Linked DNA regions of Homo sapiens: regions 1, 3 and 4 are each linked to region 2. The links are contacts of gene promoters, found by promoter capture Hi-C in blood cells and fetal thymus (Javierre and others, 2016). All regions are on one chromosome and are shown on one strand. The core of a region is centred on a gene start or on the middle of the fragment in contact, and the rest is flanking DNA. Distances in the headings are between cores, read along the strand shown. Region 1 holds the start of HSPH1 (heat shock protein family H (Hsp110) member 1). Region 2 holds the start of MTIF3 (mitochondrial translational initiation factor 3). Region 3 holds the start of USPL1 (ubiquitin specific peptidase like 1). Region 4 holds the start of SPATA13-AS1 (SPATA13 antisense RNA 1).

Evidence for each region. Contacts are between HindIII fragments. The CHiCAGO score rates a contact against its expected background, and 5 or more counts as called.
Region 1: the fragment with the promoter of HSPH1 here is called in contact with the fragment with the promoter of MTIF3 in region 2 in 1 of 17 cell types (non-activated CD4 T cells); the score reaches 6.4 in non-activated CD4 T cells.
Region 3: a contact is called between the fragment with the promoter of USPL1 here and the fragment with the promoter of MTIF3 in region 2, in 3 of 17 cell types (non-activated CD4 T cells, naive CD4 T cells and fetal thymus). The highest score is 6.5, in non-activated CD4 T cells.
Region 4: the fragment with the promoter of SPATA13-AS1 here is called in contact with the fragment with the promoter of MTIF3 in region 2 in 1 of 17 cell types (non-activated CD4 T cells); the score reaches 6.5 in non-activated CD4 T cells.

Annotation. Positions count from the first base shown.
Region 1 is chr13:31,160,458-31,163,157 of GRCh38, forward strand. HSPH1 (heat shock protein family H (Hsp110) member 1) reads right to left here and starts at 1,447. Exons shown (of 18, transcript NM_006644.4): 1 at 1,019-1,447. The coding sequence starts at 1,125. LOC105370148 (a long non-coding RNA gene) reads left to right here and starts at 2,203. Exons shown (of 3, transcript XR_941825.3): 1 at 2,203-2,700. RefSeq lists enhancers at 541-1,086, 1,087-1,632, 1,244-1,323, 1,454-1,573, 1,804-2,073. The HindIII fragment of the contact is 12,297 bases long and covers 500-2,700 here.
Region 2 is chr13:27,449,117-27,451,839 of GRCh38, forward strand. It overlaps MTIF3 (mitochondrial translational initiation factor 3), which reads right to left and starts at 1,448. Exons shown (of 5, transcript NM_152912.5): 1 at 1,393-1,448. RefSeq lists enhancers at 685-1,599, 1,443-1,802, 1,823-1,882. The HindIII fragment of the contact is 2,682 bases long and covers 1-2,273 here.
Region 3 is chr13:30,616,621-30,619,320 of GRCh38, forward strand. USPL1 (ubiquitin specific peptidase like 1) reads left to right here and starts at 1,300. Exons shown (of 9, transcript NM_005800.5): 1 at 1,300-1,436. It also overlaps a transcript of HMGB1 not described here. RefSeq lists enhancers at 698-767, 788-927, 978-1,307, 1,328-1,377. The HindIII fragment of the contact is 4,577 bases long and covers 1-2,700 here.
Region 4 is chr13:24,253,187-24,255,886 of GRCh38, forward strand. SPATA13-AS1 (SPATA13 antisense RNA 1) reads right to left here and starts at 1,253. Exons shown (of 3, transcript NR_046531.1): 1 at 1,150-1,253; 2 at 1-13. All of the region lies in intron 4 of SPATA13 (spermatogenesis associated 13), which reads left to right. The HindIII fragment of the contact is 5,552 bases long and covers 1-2,700 here.

The sequences.
Region 1 (2,700 bases), core at 197-2,696, 3.7 Mb after region 2:
TGCACTTTTCATCCTGAGCTTGGGACATTTGAAAAAAATTAATAGGTACAGTATTTTCCTTGAGATGAAATCATTTGTTTTCATCAATGCACATGCAGATATGTTTGTATATATTCTCGTCCGAAAATATCCCTTCACGAAACTTGCTTTTTAAAATGTTGCCCTTTGCCCACCCTATGCTCCTATAGAATATTTAGTTCAGTGACGACATCCATCCTCTTTTGGCGTCCTAGCACAAAAGTATGCAATTTTTATTCTCTTTTAAATAAACTGTGCAAAATTAATTTTAAAAATACGGTTTACAATTCCTCATGAATGGCAAAGAGCAAAAAAAAAGACGTTTACATCTTTCGACAATGATCCCGGGCATTAAGGCCAACAATGTTAGCAACGAAGAGACTGGGTAAAAAGAGGTGGGCTAATCTTTCATAGGACTGCTTCCGTGGTCGCTAACAACAATCCGCCTGCTCACTGGACAAGCAGCGACACAAGCTCTGGAAGCTTCCAGTTCATTTCGAGATTCACAATGCGGAAGAAAAAGGCCGGCAGCCCCGCTCCGCGGTGCGCAAAGATATGCGCGAAGGGAGGAGGACAAGCTGGAGGCGGCTCAGCCAGCTCAGAGAGGCCGGGTGGGGATACGGGGGCGGCCGCGGAAGGCGCAGGCTGCAGCCTGCCAAGAAAAGGGAGCGAAGTTGCGGGCTTTGCCGCAGCCCGACCCCCAGTAGGTTTTGAAAACCCCCAATAGGAAGCCCGCACAAGGTGACGACCCTTAGAGTCTCGACTCTGGGACTCCTCTCACCCCCGTGAATCCCTGAGACAATCCCTTCTCCAATTTGTGATGGCAAGCCCCCCATCCCTCCTCTGGCCGGGTCGCTGGTCCCTAGTTCCACGGAGGGGTGCGCCGCTGCCCAAACGCCTCCGTTTGCCGCGGTGATCCGTACAGCCAGCCCGCGATCTTGGGTCCCCACACTAAGGGCCCAGAACCTCCTCCCATCCACCCTCGCAGACTCCCACTTACGGGGTGCACCGGTCGCTGAACTCATTGGCGATGGTCTCGATGCCCCCGGCCCGGGCTACCGCGATGTAGCAGCTCTGCGAGCCCACGTCCAACCCCACCACCGACATGGCCGGCTCGCGGTCCGCCTCCGCCTCGGGTCTCGGTCTGCGTCCTCCGGCCCCCTGCCTGCTTCTCCTGCCGCCGCTTTCTGCCCTGGCCGCGTTCTGCTCCGGCCCGCGGGGTCTGGCCGTTCCTCTGACACTCAGAAGGACACACAGACAGCCGCGGCCTGTCAGGAGCCTCCTACTCCCCCGGGGACAGCGGCGGCTGGCTGATAAGAAACCCTGGGAGAAAGCGGGGCTCAGCCTCCGCAGGTCGCTCCGCACCTCGGGTTGCCTGCCTCACTCTGCCGCGGCTCGCACACCGGCGCCGGCGCTGAACTACCGACCCAAAAGGGGAGGTCCCACTTCCTCAGCCTTATGTATCGCACTGATCAGAACTTTCCAGAATCTGCGGCATTTACTCACCGGCGCCTCCACCGGCCCCTCCACGTGCCACTTCCGCTTCCTTCTTCTCGAGCCTTCTGGAAAGATTCTACCCAATGGGCAGCCGGTCCCCGGAGAACGGCCGCCGTTGCCATGGCAGCGACAGGGCCGCTCCCGTGCCATTGGCTCAAACCTGCCTCCGCCCACTCCCGCCCTAGCCACAGGCGTTTTGCTGCCCTAATAAAACAGGCAACGAAGAATGACTCCAAAACTCGGAATAGTCACAATTTACTACCGGGAGGTGGTGTCCGATCCTTAACGCTAAAGGGAGGCTGGGCGGGCGGAGACAGACCCCATTTTTGCAGAGACCCCAGACACCGGGATGGTGGGGAGGCCGGCCAGCTGTCCGGAGAGCATGTTGGGAATCGTAGTCCCGCTGGGAGAAGTGTGCGCCTTGCATGCTGGGATGTGTAGTCCTGGCCGCAGTGCTTGCTGGGACCCGGCTTTGTCTTCTGGGACTCGCGAGAGAGGCTGGGTAGGGTTTTGTCTGGCGCTTTTGCGCGGGTTCCCTGGCAATAAGCGTCATTTTGTTCGTTTGTTTTGTATTCACTTCTATTATTGTCTGGATTACCCCGACAACTGGTGCGTTACGACTTAGGAGAAGGAACACCAGTTCAAACCGCTTATAATAAAAGCAAAGGGGTTGTGTTAAGTGTTCTTGTATTCATCAGGCAGCAGGATGATCTCTTGTGGAGTAAAATGTCAGGTGTTTTTTTTTTTAAGAAATCGATTTTTAGTTGTGACGTCATTTGGCAGGCTGTCCACGGTATCACTTTCTGCTTATTTTTAAAAGGTCTGATTTAAGCCGACGCTGTTCTACCCTGCCACTCCTAGCCATAAATTGGTACTGTGTGTAAGTTTTGCTTTTTGTTTGATCTGAAGCAGCTTTTGTTTCTTTCCCTCAGAAGCGATGTCCCCGTTAACTTTTGTTCAGTAAAGAGACAGTGTAAGAAAAGGTGGAACTGTGTTGCTGATAACTTATCAGGTCTTTTATACCCTTTTGTGTCTTTTTAAGTTTGCTTCTGATCCCTGAGTTTACCTTATGTCAGGCATGTGGAAGTATAAGCACAGTTCAAATATGTTATTGGATAAGCGTGTAATTGAATAAGGAGTTGTAACCTAAAGTTAGAAAAATCTAACTCATAAAGAGTATGGGAA
Region 2 (2,723 bases), core at 198-2,697:
GATGGGATCACTACCCATCCACAACCTCCAGTCACCTCCAAGACACCTTTGACGCCTCCACTTTCCCAGTCAACCCAACACCAAGCCTCATCGACTTCATTTCCTAAACCCCACTCGAATCCATCCAGTCCTCTCCGTATCCACTGTCACCACCGTCAGTTTAAAACATCGACCACCTCGTTTGGATTCCTGCCAGTCTCCTAACTCGGCTTGAGCCCTGGCAACCAGTTCCCACTGCACTGCGGTCACTACACCCAGGACCTTCCTCACCTTAAATAAAACTGCCCCGAGATTAAAGATCTACACCTTCGCCAGGCCAAAAGGCCCTTCCCACCTCTCCAGTTTCTTCTTTATGCCTAGGCCACACTGGCCATTCGGTTTTTGAAATACAGTACTCTCGTCCTTGGTTTAGGAAACGCCAGATCCTTAGCGCATTCTTCTGATTACCTTCCAAACTAAGCCAGTTCTCCCATCCCTCCCCCAATTTACTGAGCTTAACACTGAATGCTTCTACAGTCCAGTTGACCTTTCCTTTAAAACATTCATTACAATTACAGTTTTGTGATGATCTTAGCACTGCTGTTCTCCATCACTAGACCGTAAACTCTACGAAGCAGGAACAAAATGGACTTATTCGTTACTGTGTTGTGCCTGACAGAATGAATAGTAGTCGATTTTCAGATTCTTCTCTCCATCCTCTACTTTTCTAAGACTTAGGCCTTTCACAACACGTACTTGAAACTGAGACTTCTCAGTAAGAGAACTTCGTTTACTTGGTTCAAGTCTTAAGCCACGGAGCCCACTAAATGACAAATGAGAAAAAAAATCCCAGTCACTTCGCGACCTTCCCCCATAAGGCCTCCTCCCGCAACAGCAGGCAGCAAGAACAACGCATTTGTCCAGCATGTCCTGCGCAGGCGCCCTTCGCCTGGCTCGCTCTGCCCCACCTGTGCCAGGCAGTAAGCCGCAAGAGCACTTCCGGGAGCCCCCGACCCGGTTGTTGGTAAGTCGGCGGCGACGCCCACCTGCAGAACGGGACCGGCGGAGCGCCAGGGCTAGAGACGGGACGTAGCGACGTACTGCGTGCGTGCGTGCGCACAAACGAGGGCGCGCATGTCGGGACGGAACTAGAAAAGCTCAGTGGGGCTGGCGGCAACTCTAGGTCTAACATCCCTCGGAAGTTCGTGCAGCGGCCTCGCTGAAAATGGCTTTACAGCCCGGCAGAACCCTCCGACTCCGCAGCAGGACCTGCGGAGCCTCTCCGCCCTCGGTACCGGCGGGACGGGGTAGCCCTGACCTTCCGGGTGCCTCCTCCACAGGGGCGCCCCCTAAGGCCACGCCCTCCCGATGCCGGTCCGCGCACCGCTCCGCACGCCTCATATTTAGCATTACCTGTGCTGGGGCAAGCGATTGACATACTGTAGCGGACGCAAGTACAGCGGATCTGCGGCGAGTCCCCTTCGCTCTCCGTAGTGGGCGGGGCTTCACCCCGCGTCCTTTAAAGGAAAGGTGATGGGCGGAGCCACGTTTTTCTACTGTTGGGATTCAGTTCCGCCGACAGAAAATGCGGAGAACGCGGAGGAAGTCCCTGAGGGGAAATTGCTGCTCACCTGGCTCCCGCTGCTCCGCAGGTGCGGTGAAGGCTAATGTCGAATTTCTGCAGCAATCGGAGCAGCCCTTACTCCAGTTACATTAACACCAATCTCGGTCTCCCACTAGGGCTTTATAAATTGCTTTCATAAACGTCTTTTTAATGTAACACTGAATAAAATGTTTTATAAGCGTCTTTTATAAGGATCGTAAGTGAAAGGGCGCTGTCTCCGATTTGCAGGTGAGCAGACAGCTTCGGAGTGAGAACGGCTCCCCGCGGGTCCCCGGTGGCGCGCGGCTCCCGGAGGCAAAACAAAGCTGGGGCCGGGGCGTCGGAGCCTCCGCGTTGTAGTTGGGAGAGGTTCGAACGGGGCCCCAGCTGGCGAAAGGGAAAACGGACCCGGACCCGGACCCGTGGAGCCTGCTCGAAAGCCGGGTGCTGGGGGTCTGGGCCCCGTGTCCCCCCTCTTTTTCTTCTTCAATAAGAAATTCCTCAAGGGCAGACTGCGAGTCCACAGTCGTGAAGCCACCTAATCTGGCTTCATACCTGGAATGTTTGGATTCCTGGTACGAAGAAAAACTAACATTTATTGGCTACTTGTCCACTGGAAGGCGTTGTCTTATTTCTCATTAACTCCTTGAGTCAGCATTACGTCTTTTATTACAGATGACACAACTACTAAAGCTTTAAATAGTTCTTTGGGAGCAAAGACGAAATCTCCATTTCCTTTTTAGCTGCTGGTAGCTCGACGCTCACTGTTAAAATAGGGAGGTAATGAAACAACTCTTGTGTGAGACCGAAAGTCCAGGTGTGCATCTTGGCCATTTCCAAGTTAATCAAGAAGAATTAAGGATTCATTTTATTCTATCAAAATTATTTCTCAATGCCAAGATATTTTGTGTGACGTAGATTCGGGGACAGACTGAGTAGCACAATACCTGGGAAAAGTTAGGTGCTCAGCAATTATAATTGCCCACATTTGTGATTGCTTTTGCCTATGTGCCAGACACTGTTCTACGCACTGAACATATCTCAAGTTATTCAATCTTCAGGACAACCTTATGAGCCAATTATTATTATTACCCATTTTACAGATGAGGGAACTGAAACAAATTTGCCCAAGGTCGCACAA
Region 3 (2,700 bases), core at 50-2,549, 3.2 Mb after region 2:
AAATACATTAACAATCTAGTAAAGCAACAGAAAAAGGTAAACAAACTAACCAGCCTATTTTTGTCTGGAGAAACCCCAACAAACTGCTGGATTCCTTGGCCATTTGCATTCAGAAGTACCAAAAACTAAAATCCTTTTTACTAAATAATTTCTTCTACACGAGACTTGTTTCCTCCACACCACCCTATCCAAATTGTCAGCATTATTCCAGAATATAATCATTTAGTTTGAGACCACTAAAAAACCCCGCAGTCCAAAATACCAATTGTGGTTTTTCTGTAAAGAAATGGTCAGAAACTACAAATTGTTATCCTAGGACACAGAACCAATCGACCAAAAGGACTTCTGGAATATGCTGCCCCCAAGATTTAGAATGCACAGGCAGAAATAGCATACGCGGTCACGATGTCCCTTAAGCCACATGACCTTCCTACGAAAGCAAAGGCTTAAACTTATCAAATGAGAACTCCCCCTTTCTCTGAAGTTAAAACAAGGCAGGGCAGCTGGAATTAGAGCAGCAGGGACAGATCGGCTGTTGACTAGTCAGAACGGGTCGTGGAATGCAAAGTCCCTGCGCTTTCGCTGCTCCCCTTACCGTGAGAAGATCTGGGAGGGAGGAAAGGAGGAGAAACACCCCAGAATCCTGGTAGAAAAGCCCCTGGCCTCGAAGATGGGCTCTAGGGAGACAGGGAGGGGCAGCTCCGTGTGTGATGACCCTTTGTGAACATGCACTCTGTGGCAGCTTCAGCTCCACCGAGGCTTTGGGAGAGCGGACTACGGATGCCCGGCGCGGCCCAGCTGTGAAGGCCGCGCCGGCGGAGAGGGTCCATGGCACCCCCGCCGGCTTCGGAAGCCCTTCCCTCTCCCACCTCCGCGGGTCACCCCAGGAACCAGCGGCTCCCGACCACGCTCGCGCGGACCACGGAACAGCGACGCGCAAGCAGGTCTCTTTCGTCAGCGTAATCCCTCCGCAGAAAGCCGCGCACTAGTTTTAATCACGCCCCACCCCCTGGCCGCTGGCGCCACCTCCGCCACTCGGGCGCTTTCCAGCAGCTTCCAGAAACGTCGCCTCCCCAAACCCAGCCACTCACACATGGCGGGCTCAGCAGCCACCGGCCCCGCCCCTCCTCGTCGCCGCAGTCGCAACTGCGTCTGCGGCCACAGGGCGGACAGCCACGCCTCTGCGGAGGGCGACCGGAAGTGCTCACGTCTTCACCTTCCCCGCCACGCCACCGTCCTTTCAGGCCCAGCGTGCAGCAGGAAGGAGGACTCTTTTGCCGCGGACTCAAGCCGGAAGCCGCCTTCCTAGTGGAGACGCGAGTGGGGGAGGAGCAGTCCGAGGGGAACGTGGGTTGAACGTTGCAACTAGGGTGGAGATCAAGCTGGAACAGGAGTTCCGATCGACCCGGTACCAAGAAGGGGAGTGCCCGCGGCAGGTAAGGGAGAAGAGGGAGGGGTTTCTTTCCGCTCTCGAAATTGGGAAAAGAGACAGAGCTGGGATGACCTATGGGGTAGTCGGCGCGCTGAAAGGATGGGCTGGGCTGGGACGGGGTTCAAGTGGGAAAGGTTGATGATTAAGGTATAGAGTTGGACTTACAGATCCGTTTGGGCGCAGAGAGGTGAACGCTGAAGAGAAACCAGAGTTTGTTTTCGTTTTCCAAGGAGCGTGGAGATGGGCAGGGTTAACGGACCCTGCGCCTCCTTCGGCTTCTTAGTTTGGGTGTTGAAACTCACCTCCTTTGGTCCTGTTCGTCTCTGATTCAAGACAGTTGGGTTTGGTACCTGACAGGGCTGGGTGCAGAAAGCTGACCCTGTTCCTCGGCTTCCAGGTCGGTTGTGGCCTCGCTTTTGACAGTTCACGTGCCGAGCCTACTCGCTCTCGGAGGGCGAGCTCAAATGGGTGGGTTTAAGGCCCCCTCTTCGAACAGCTGTTTCCCTGGGTTTCTCCATTTTGCACACAGGAGTGTGAATTAAGTTTAATTGAATACTTTTTGCGATTCCCAGGGCCACCTTGACACGTTCATTGTGCTATCTAACTGGGTTCATGCTGGGCTAATAATTCACATTAAGGCTTCTGGAGTATAAGTGGTTCACAGAAGTATGAAAAGGGGATGTTAGAAGAAAGATGCTGGGGGTGAAGTAGAGTTGAGGAAGACAGAACTGGAAAGCTAGGTTGGTTTCACAGTACAATGAGCTTTAGGTCATAATACTACCTTTAGGTTATATTGGGCTGTTTGGACGGAGTTTGCTGTAATCAGGCTAGAGTAAATAGAGAATTTTAAACTAAGCATTGACAGGCTCAGACTTGTAGAGGCATCATTTTGACAGTGATATGGAAGGGAAAGAGGTAGAGATTTGAGACCTTTCCAAAGAACTGTCCACAGAATTTGGTGACTTACTGTGCGAAGAGGGAAATAAAGAATAGGGAACAACTCAAGACTTTCTAGTCTGTGTGTTTGGAAGGATGGAGACGCCCACATTTAAGTGAGATATGGGAAGGAGGAGCAGATTGTTTTTGAAGGGAGGAAGAGCAGTTACTTAGGGTCAAATTAAGTTGTAAAATCCCCCCCGGGATTTTGTATGTAAGTCAAAGTGAATTGTATTTGGAAGAAGAACTGGGGAGCCCACCTCTGGTATTTTTTTTATGTCCCTCATATGGACAAATAAACCTCTGGTATTAAATGAATTTTCTTTTGGGGG
Region 4 (2,700 bases), core at 3-2,502, 3.2 Mb before region 2:
GGACCCTTGCCTTCTATATGTGAAGACAGGCCAAGTAAGTATTTAACAGAGCAGACAGTACTATAAAGAAAAATAAAACAGGATAGAGAGCATTCATTTCCAAAGAGTGTTATTCTAATGACACTCTAATGAACAGGATGCACCTGTTCCATGAACCCTCTCTCTCTTCCCTAGAAGGAGACACCCAGATCCTCATCAGTGGCAGCAGACACCTCCAAGTCTAGGACCTCTTAGGATAACTAGTCCTCCAGTTCCATGCAGTGCCTCTTCAGCGTTGATTAACTAGAGGCAGATTTAAGCAACACATCCCTACCAGAATGGCAAGGCAGGGAAAGGAAGGAAATAGAGAATTTGGGATGCTGTGGAGAATAAAACGTCATGCAAAGTTTACATTTCAGCATTTGAACAGATTCCATAAGTCAATATGTAGGATGCACCAAGGCACCAGTGACGGCCCTGCAGAAGATGACTTTGGGTAATGTGAGGAGTAGGAGCAGGTGGGGGAGATAGCCTCCTCTCCAAGGAGGTGACGCTGGGGACAGGTGAGTAGGAGGCAGTGAGGCAGAGATCCGAGGGAGGAGAAGTCCTAGCCGAAGGAGCACCAGAAGCCCAAAGACAGGCAGGAAACATGATGTGTCTGAGGTTCAGCAAGGAGGCCACAGTGACAGGAGCTCAGGGAGCAAGAGGCAGACGAGGATGTTGCAGGCTGGGAGGTGGGCTGAGGCTGGAAAGGGCTCTGCAGGTCATGAGGAGGCTGAGCTTGTTCTAAGTGTGGTGTGAAGCCATTGGCAGCAGGAGCATATTATGTTCCGGTTTATGCTTAGAGAGGGAGGGCAGTTTGTGGGGGGAAAGGAAGAGGAATGGAGATTGATTTGAAGGCGATTGCATTAGTCCATTTGAGAAATATGGTAGCAGTGACCACAAAAGCCATCCCCATTTTCCGTGGGTGCTCATTTTCCCAGTGGTACGAAGAGGCAAAAATGGCCAGCCTTGGTTCTGATTCACTGTGGCCAGGACTGTGAACTCTGGAGGAAGTACTTCTCCCTTGGGCACTAAATTCAGTTTCAACAGAGCAGAGTTCCTAGGTGGGAAGAAAACATTTTGCAAGTATATTATTAAGTAATCCTAAGAAGCCGCTTCTATGTTTACCCTTGGTTTCCGGCCCTGCATCTTCTGCTGTGGGCCAGCCTCTCCAAATTAGTCACTGCTTCAGAGCTTGCGTCCCATCCAGGGCAGTATGGCAACTTCTGGGTGTGTCTCCCAGCTGCCTCTGTAACTTCATTTTTATTTGGTTGTTATTGGGTGTGATGGGGTCATGTGCTTCCTTCTCTGTGACGTTCTGGGCCTGGATGGCGTGTGAGATGCTGCGACAGGATAGGGGCCTTCTAGAGGATCCACAGAGTGCAGGAAAACAAATCCAAGCCCAGCATAAGTGGCCCTTCCAGTAGGGACAAATCACCACCCCCTCTATTATGAAAAGGCCCCACTGCAATCAGCTTTCCGCAAGGGGCTGTCTGGTTCCTGCGGGGAACCGTATCATCAGCTTTGTTGAGGGGAAGGCCCAGACTTCCTGTGGTTTAGCCCAGGCTTGGCATCCATTTTTGCCACCATGGCCTTTTTCTTGCTTGCTTCTTTTTTTTTTTCCTTTTTATGAACCCACTGAGCAAGTATCAAGATGACTAGGAAGGAAGACTGGCATCTAGCTGCACATTGGGACAGCATGTCCACATGATGATTGATTAGCCTCTCTTGCAATAAGGATTCATGTAGGATGGACATCATCTCATGCTCTGCGGGTATTCTGAGGTAGCCAGTTATACTCCTTCCCCAAACCCATCCTCAGCCCATCTTGTTCTTTCCACATTCCTCCAGGCCATTCAGCCAGGCCATTAGCTCCTAACCAGGAGTGCGCACGAGCTAAATCCTTGCCTTGCCAAAGCCATCTCTCCTACTCAGAAAGGCTTGGGAAGAGTATTGCTTACATTTGCCGCCGGGAGTTTCCCTGTCCTGAGGACACAGTCACCAGGCTGATGGTAGGAGTTCTCTTTGAGAAGCTAGGAAGAAGACTTGTAGTAGGATGCCTACCCTGAGGCTCCCTGGCTCTGCTCCATCAAGAGGCCTGAGTCTGGGAGTTGAGTGAGGGCCCTCCCTTGTCTTCTCTGTCATGGTGGCTCAGGTCGGGCTCTGCTTGCCAGCCCTGGAGAGTTCCTCCTACACAATGTTGTGGTACCTTTGTGGAATCACTCATCTGTTTTGTTCCTGGGGACCCCGAGATCAGTTAACAGCACAACCAGAGATTTCACAGGTCAAACCATTCAGATGACCAAGCTGGCCCTGCTGTGTGGTATAGTAACTATGCCCACCTTTTTCCCATGACAGATGTCCCACCCCCATGGAGGACCAGGTTTGCATTGCAGTGGAACCATCTCTCAGCAGCATCTCTGGCCTAGAGAGATTAGCAGTACATTAATTATAAAAGCTGCTGTCACATGGGAGATGCAGCCCAAGGGGTGGTGAGACTCACATGATAGACCATCTCTAGCATTTCCATCCCAGTCCTGGAACTCCTTCCTTTCTATGCACTGAGGGTTTTAGGTTTATATACCAACGAAGTGCTAGAATGGCATCCAGCTCAGTAAGCCCACAAATTGAGCTCAGCAAACCAGCTGTAAAAGCATCATTTTGAGACACGTTGGGGAG